Regions from separate parts of the Homo sapiens genome. Here region 1 is linked to region 2. Evidence: promoter capture Hi-C in 16 types of primary human blood cells and fetal thymus (Javierre and others, 2016). All regions are on one chromosome and are shown on one strand. Each heading gives the region's core, a stretch centred on a gene start or on the middle of the fragment in contact. The rest is flanking DNA. Distances are from core to core; before and after follow the strand shown. Region 1 holds the start of TBC1D9-AS1 (TBC1D9 antisense RNA 1). Region 2 holds the start of MGST2 (microsomal glutathione S-transferase 2).

Region 1 (3,404 bases), core at 8-2,507, 1.0 Mb after region 2:
AAGCCCAGCGCTTTTCTAAGTGTAGGTTCCTGTGTACAAGCATACCTAGGAAGCTGGCCTTGAAACCCCAGCAGTGTGTTGGCTCATTCTTTCCCCACGAACAAGCTTGCTGCTTTCAGACTTTGTGCAGGACTCAAATCTGCTCTGATACGGACCAGTGAGGACAATGTGATTGAAGTTATTAAAAAATTACGCCAAGCCTTGTGTGATCTAATTCCTCAAAGAAGCCCCTCAAAAGGCGGGGGCTTAATTTAATTTCCCCTCAAGTCCCGTAATAGGAAAGTGGATGCTATTGTCTTAGATTTACAGCTGCTTCTGTGTGCAACAGGAAGTTATATTGATTCTAATCTTGGCTGTAGAGGCGGGTCTGAAAACCTAAAACTCAAAGGTCAAGGTCAGCCAAGGTCAACCTTGAGAGGTAGGAAGGAGGGGCCTTTTTGGTGTGGTAGGAAGAGTTCATCGCTATGAAGCCCACCTCTGTTTCTAAGAGATTAGCTATATCAATCCCCTCCTGGATACCTGGGGGCAATACCCCTCAGATCCCTTCTCTCAGGAAGGCCACATTTGCAGAAGCCACTCACTGTCCTGAGATGTCAACCCTTCTTCTAATTCATGTATCCTCTTACGTAATTCAACTGCCAATAATTGAGAGCATCGATAAGCTGAAGAACAACTTGGCAACGAAATAATATGAAATAGAAATAATTCTGAATTCAAAATTACATTTAGGTAATGACCTACAATGTCTAAATAAATTATAGTACATTGATATAATATGTAGACATTTAAAATCATACCTTCAAGTAATTATTTCATGACATGGTGAAATGCACCTAGCATATGAAAAACAGCACAAAACTAATTACTATTCTGTATGATCCCAATTTGTCTAAAAAAGTATAATATAACCTATATTACAAATTACAATACATGTATTAATTTTAAAGAATACAAAACTAAATATGAATATTAACATTAGTAGGTGAGATGACAATTCTGCTATTTTATGGTCTTCTGTGTTTTCAAAAATATCTCAAATGTACATTCAATACATTTATGATGAGAAAACAAAAAATATATAATTACCTCCAACCTTTTATTTTGGGCTTTTTTTACTCAAAGAGAGCTCATGCCATCAAGCAAACAGACAGTTACCATGGTTATACTAACGCTGCTACTTCACAACAGATAACCACAGGTTAGAAATCTTGTTGCTAGGTTGCAACATGCTAGCTAAGAGTCCATATCTAAATGAGAGGCTCCCTCAAAAACACACTTCCTTGGAGAGGGACCTGGCGTTTACATTTTAGAAATTTTTTTTTGAAGTTCATTTTTTCCCTCTGGTATACGGAGTTCATCAATGCTACAAACTGGTACGTATTCATACACACTGAATCACATTCCTTACTCCAGTTGCAGGCACTTGATGTTTAATAACTAGTTTATCTCAAGTCAGGAAGTTTACAGTGTCAAAATGAATCAAATTGATTTTACCATTTTTATCAAGTATTCTCTGAATATGCTCTTTAAAAAAAAAGAATATATATATATGCCAGGTGCGGTGGCTCAGGCCTGTAATCCCAGCACTTTGGGAGGCCCAGGCGGGCAAATCACGAGGTCAAGAGTTCGAGACCAGCCTAGCCAACATGGTGAAAGCCCATCTCTACTAAAAATACAAAAAATTAGCTAGGCGTAGTGGCGGGCGCCTGTTGTCCCAGCTACTCAGGAGGCTGAGGCAGGAGAATTGCTTGAACCCGGGAGGCGGAGGTTGCAGTGAAGCCGAGATCACGCCATTGTACTCCAGCCCGGGCAAGAGAGTGAGACTCCATCTCAAAAAAATAGATAGATAGATAGATAGATAGATAGATAGATAGATAAATGGGATCCTGCTCTGTTGCCCATGCTGGAATGCAGTGGCATGATTGTTTCCGGAACAAACTGAGGGTCGGGCTGCTATTTCTCATGGCCTAATAACGAGATGCAAATGAACTGGGGAGGAAGAAAGTTTTTATTTCTGCAACCGGTTACAGGGAGAAGGCCTGGAAATTATCACCAGACCAACTCAAAATTACAGTTTTCCAGAGCTTATATACCTTCTAAGCTATATGTCTACATGTAAGTGTGCATTCATCTAAAGACATAGGTGATTAACTTCTTTTAATCTATAACTAAGGTCTGAGTCTTGAGGTTAATTTTTAAATTTTTTTATAGAAATGGGGGTCTCATTACGTTGCCCAGGCTGGTCTACAACTCCTGGGCTCAAGGGATCCTCCCACTTTGGCCTCCCAAAGCACTGGGATTACAGGTGTGAGCCGCCTCATGGGCCTTCCACTGAGTATTCATTAAATCTCTAAGTACCCATGGTGTTGCCTTCAGCTACATATAAGCAAGACAAAGAAAAAAGCCCAGGAGACCAGCCACTCTGTGCTTATATTAACAAAGGAAATGCCAGGAAAGATGCATATTAAACTTAATAATGGTTACCTCTTGGGAATGAGATTGATATGGCAGAAATCAGAAACATTTTTTATTATTTGAAATATATTTTTAGGCCAGGTACAGTGGACTGTAATCCCAGGACTTTGGGAGGCCAAGGTGGGAAGACCACTTGAGCCCAGGAGTCTGAGACAGCCTGGGCAATAATTAAGACTTTGTCTCTACAAAAAAAATATTAAAAATTAAGCAAGGTGTAGTGGTGCATGCCTGTAGTTCCAGCTACTTGGGAGACTGAGGCAGGAGGATCACTTGAGCCCAGGAGGTAGAGGGTGCAGTGAGTTAAGACCACACCCTGCACTTCAGCCTGGGAGACAGAGTGAGACCCTATCTCTGAAAAAGAATTAAAAAAAAAAAACTATATTTTTTAAAGTAATTTCTATACTATTGGAACTATACACTATAAAACATTGTACTTTTATAATTTGTACAATGTACATGTATTATAATCAAATAATGAACCACTAGGTTGGTGCAAAAGTAATTGCAGTTTTTAATACTATAGGATCAATGAAACATTAAAGATCCTACTATAAGAGTTTGTAAATGATGAAGCCACTTAACCAATCAGCTCCTGCTGCTTTCTGTAAAGGTCACTGGCAAAAATCAGAATCGGTAACCCTTGGCATAATATTAGCCTGGGGGGCTGAAGAGGTGAATGCAAGATGATACAGAATAAGGCAACCTTGTGCAGCCTTTCACCAGGGACTTTGATTAGTGCAAACACACAAGGCTAAAACGTGGCCTAGGATGAAAAGATGAGCCACTTCCCTTGTTGGCAAAAAAGAGTCAAGCTCTGTAAAATATTTAAAGAGGTTTATTCTGAGCCAAATATGAGTGTTCAAGGCCTGAGGCAGTCTCAAGAGGTCCTGAGAACATGTACCCATGGTGGCTGGGTTGCAGCTTGGTTT
Region 2 (3,580 bases), core at 481-2,980:
GAACACATTTGTATATGCCAGGTGCTGTTTTAAGTGCTCTATAAGTATTAACTAATTCAATCCTTAGAATAGGATTATGTCATTTAAACTTCTCTTCAGCTCTTATTAGCCCTATCTTATTAAATGGAGGCTCAGAGAGGCCCAAGGTTGTGTTATTAAATTGTAGGGTCTGTGTGAGGCTGAGGCAACTGCCCTCCCCAGAAGACACTGGGAGCTCCCTGCTAGGGACTAAATGTTTGTGTCCCCTCTGCAATTCATATGTTGAGACCCTAACCCCCAACGTGATGTTATCAGGCATTTGGCAGATAATTAGCTACAGGTGAGGTTATGAGCATAGGCCCCCATAATGGGATCTGTGCCCTTATAAGAAGTGACCAGGAAGCTTACTCTTTCTCTGTCTCCAACATGAAGGTGTCCTTCTGCAAACCAGGAAGAGGGCCCTCACCAGGAACTGATTGGCCAGCACTGTCATCTTGGACTTCCCAGCCTTCAGGACTGTGACGAATAAATTGCTATTGTAAGCCACCCAGTCTATGGTATCTTTGTTATAGCAGCTTGAGCCAAGATATACCCTCTAATGGTGCTGTAGGATGGGGTGAGGAAAGGCCCCCAGCTCTGGTTTTTGGGAAGCTGCATCTTTATTTTTATTATTTGTTTGAGACAGGGTCTCACTTTGTCACCCAGGCTGAAGTGCAGTGGAACGACCTTGGCTCACTGCAGTCTCAGGCTCCTGGGTTCAAGCAATCCCCTTGCCTCAGCCCCCTAAGTAGCTGGGACTACAGGCACGTGCCACCATGCCCTGCTAATTTTTGTATTTCTTTAAGAGATGGGGTTTTGCCATGTTACCCAGGCTGGTCTCGAACTCCTGAGCTCAAACCATCTGCCCATTTCAGCCTCCCAAACTGTTGGGATTACAGGCATGAGCCATCCTTCCAGGCCAGAATCTGCATCTCTAAAGAGCAGATTCTCCTGCCTCAGCCTCCTGCGTAGCTGGGACTACAGGTTCGTGCCACCATGCCCAGCTGATTTTTTGTATTTTTAGTAGAGAAGGGGTTTTACTGTGTTAGCCAGGATAGTCTTGATCTCCTGACCTCGTGATTCACCCTCCTTGGCCTCTTAAAGTGCTGGGATTACAAGTGTGAGCCATCGCGCCCGGCCGGTTTATTTTTTTAAAAATGGCTGGGCACAGTGACTTGTGGCTGTAGTTCTAGCTACTTGGGAGGCTGAGGCAGGAGGATTACTTAAGCCCAAGAGTTGGAGGCTGCAGTGAGCTATGATCGTGCCACCACACACTCCAGCCTGGGTGACAGATCAAGACCCTGTCTTAAAAAAAAAAAGTATGATTATTATCAGAGTCTCTAGGTGACAGTGAGAGGCAGCCTGGTGCAGGGGATAGGGCACAGTTGTAATCTGCTAGACTGGGTTCAAATCCTAAATCGGCCATTCAGAGCGTGAATACATTAGAACTGGCTTAAATTAGCATTTAAAATGTCAACAGGATTAAGTAAGTAGTTCCTTCTCACTTTTTCCACAGGAGGTGAGAAAGGTCTCAGCAAGGCCCTAGGAGGGAAGGGCGTGGGGATGAAAGGGATCCAGAGAGTCTGTGCATTGGCAGAGAAGATAGTGTAACTGGCACTGCGGCTGGAGGGCTGGTCCCACAGTGAGCTACAGCCCTGCCCGCTGGCCGTGGGAGAGGCTTAAAACAAACGCCGGAAGCAACTCCCAGCCCCATAAAGATCTGTGACCGGCAGCCCCAGACCTGCCTGCCTTCCTGACTTCTGTTCCAGAGCAAAGGTCATTCAGCCGCTTGAATCAGCCTTTTCCCCCCACCCGGTCCCCAACTTTGTTTACCCGATAAGGAAGGTCAGCATTCAAAGTCAAGAAGCGCCATTTATCTTCCCGTGCGCTCTACAAATAGTTCCGTGAGAAAGATGGCCGGGAACTCGATCCTGCTGGCTGCTGTCTCTATTCTCTCGGCCTGTCAGCAAAGTAAGAGGCATGGGAAGTTCGTGTGTGTGCGCGTGTGTGCGTGTGTGTGTGTGTGTGACAAGGCTTGCGGGAGAGAGAGGGAGGGAGGGAGATGGGTCCGGTGTTTTGTTTCCTACTTGCCCTTGCAGGTAGCTCTGGGTCCTCAGAGCACAGTCGCCTCAGGGTCACCCATGCCGCCTGCTACCCTCCTTCCCAGGGGCAAGCAGAGACTGAGAACATTCCAGAGATTAGTTCTCCCAACTGGAACGCTGTGGGGCCTCAGAGCTCAGCGATTCTGCATCATCTGTGATTACGACCCACAGCCCGTTCAAACGAGCGTTAGTAGCCTGCTAACCTGCAGGAAGTGGTGTGAATATTAATTACAAGTGTTCCAAAGGAAACGTGCCTGCTTCTAAACCTGGTTGTGATTTCTTGAACGTTGATGTTTTAATTAATGTGTTTTCTTAAATAAACTGCCTATGGTGGTATGATTATCAGATTGAAAAAAACTTCCTTCAGAAATATTAGCTTTAGATTAAGTAATTAGCTCTAAATTTTAAAACAGCTTCCCACTAGGATTATTCAATATCTCGACTGCCTGGTTAAATAGAGGGCTTTTACTCCATGGGAGTCACATTTGCTCAATTCATATTATCTTACCTACAATGTCAGCTGGGGAAAGGGGTCCGAGTGCAAGAGTGCAAGACTTCTTACCAAGCATGCATATTTCTTTATATTTCCAAGTATGCCTGTACCAGGAAATAGGGCCAAGCCGTAGACTGCTCAGGTTACACAAACAGCCAGAAGCAGGAAGGCCTCACAGCTGAGGATCCAGTCCAGGCCTCCGTGCATGCTCAATGTCTTGCCTAGCCAGTCTGTTTTGAGATTGTATGAAGATCTTGAACCTTCAGACTCACGTTTTGTGGTTTGATTCACACAATCTGTTGTGGAGAAGAGCAGGATATTTGTTTCTAATTAAAGAAGCACTTAGATCTGTTAAAAGGAAAACCCTAGACAAATTACATTTAACTGAGTTTAATTGAGCAAAGAACGATTCACAGTTGGGCATGGGGAACCGGAATAGGTTCAGAGAGACTCTGGGGCTGCCACGTGGTAGAAGAAGATTTATGGACAGAAAAAGGAAAGCGACTCCCAGAAAACGGAAGCATATAGTTCACGATGTACGGAGAAACCTTTAGGCTGAACTTAAAATATGTCAGAAGGCAGCTTTAGGCTAAACCTAATTTAGCAGGTCTAAGGCTCACTGTTGGTAGCATCCTGACTCACAGGTGCTACCAAACCTGCATGCGCCTTTATCCTAGGCCTGCAGGTCCACAGATGTCCCAAAGCTGACAGAGGTGCTCATCCTCCCTGTTTGCTGCTTGTGCAGGGGGCTGTGTGAACTGGGGCCAGAATGTTAGGGGGCTGGATGGAGTGGGGGTAGGGGTGGGGAGAGAGGAGAGGAGACTGGGTGAATGATGATTAATGGTGGACAGGGAATGTTTAATGACAAGGTGTTAGGGCCGGGCACGGTGGCTCACCCCTGTAATCCGAGTACTTTGGGAGGCCAAGGCAGGTGGATCACGAGGTCAAGAGATCGAGACCATCCTGG

The links. Contacts are between HindIII fragments. The CHiCAGO score rates a contact against its expected background, and 5 or more counts as called.
Region 1: the fragment with the promoter of TBC1D9-AS1 here is called in contact with the fragment with the promoter of MGST2 in region 2 in 9 of 17 cell types (monocytes, M1 macrophages, total B cells and 6 more); the score reaches 18.2 in monocytes.

The regions. Positions count from the first base shown.
Region 1 is chr4:140,710,911-140,714,314 of GRCh38, forward strand. It overlaps TBC1D9-AS1 (TBC1D9 antisense RNA 1), which reads left to right and starts at 1,258. Exons shown (of 2, transcript XR_007058283.1): 1 at 1,258-1,373. The region is part of intron 1 of TBC1D9 (TBC1 domain family member 9); the gene reads right to left. The HindIII fragment of the contact is 8,622 bases long and covers 104-3,404 here.
Region 2 is chr4:139,664,089-139,667,668 of GRCh38, forward strand. MGST2 (microsomal glutathione S-transferase 2) reads left to right here and starts at 1,731. Exons shown (of 5, transcript NM_002413.5): 1 at 1,731-1,989. The coding sequence starts at 1,932. RefSeq lists enhancers at 1,290-2,489, 1,786-1,955. The HindIII fragment of the contact is 3,780 bases long and covers 381-3,580 here.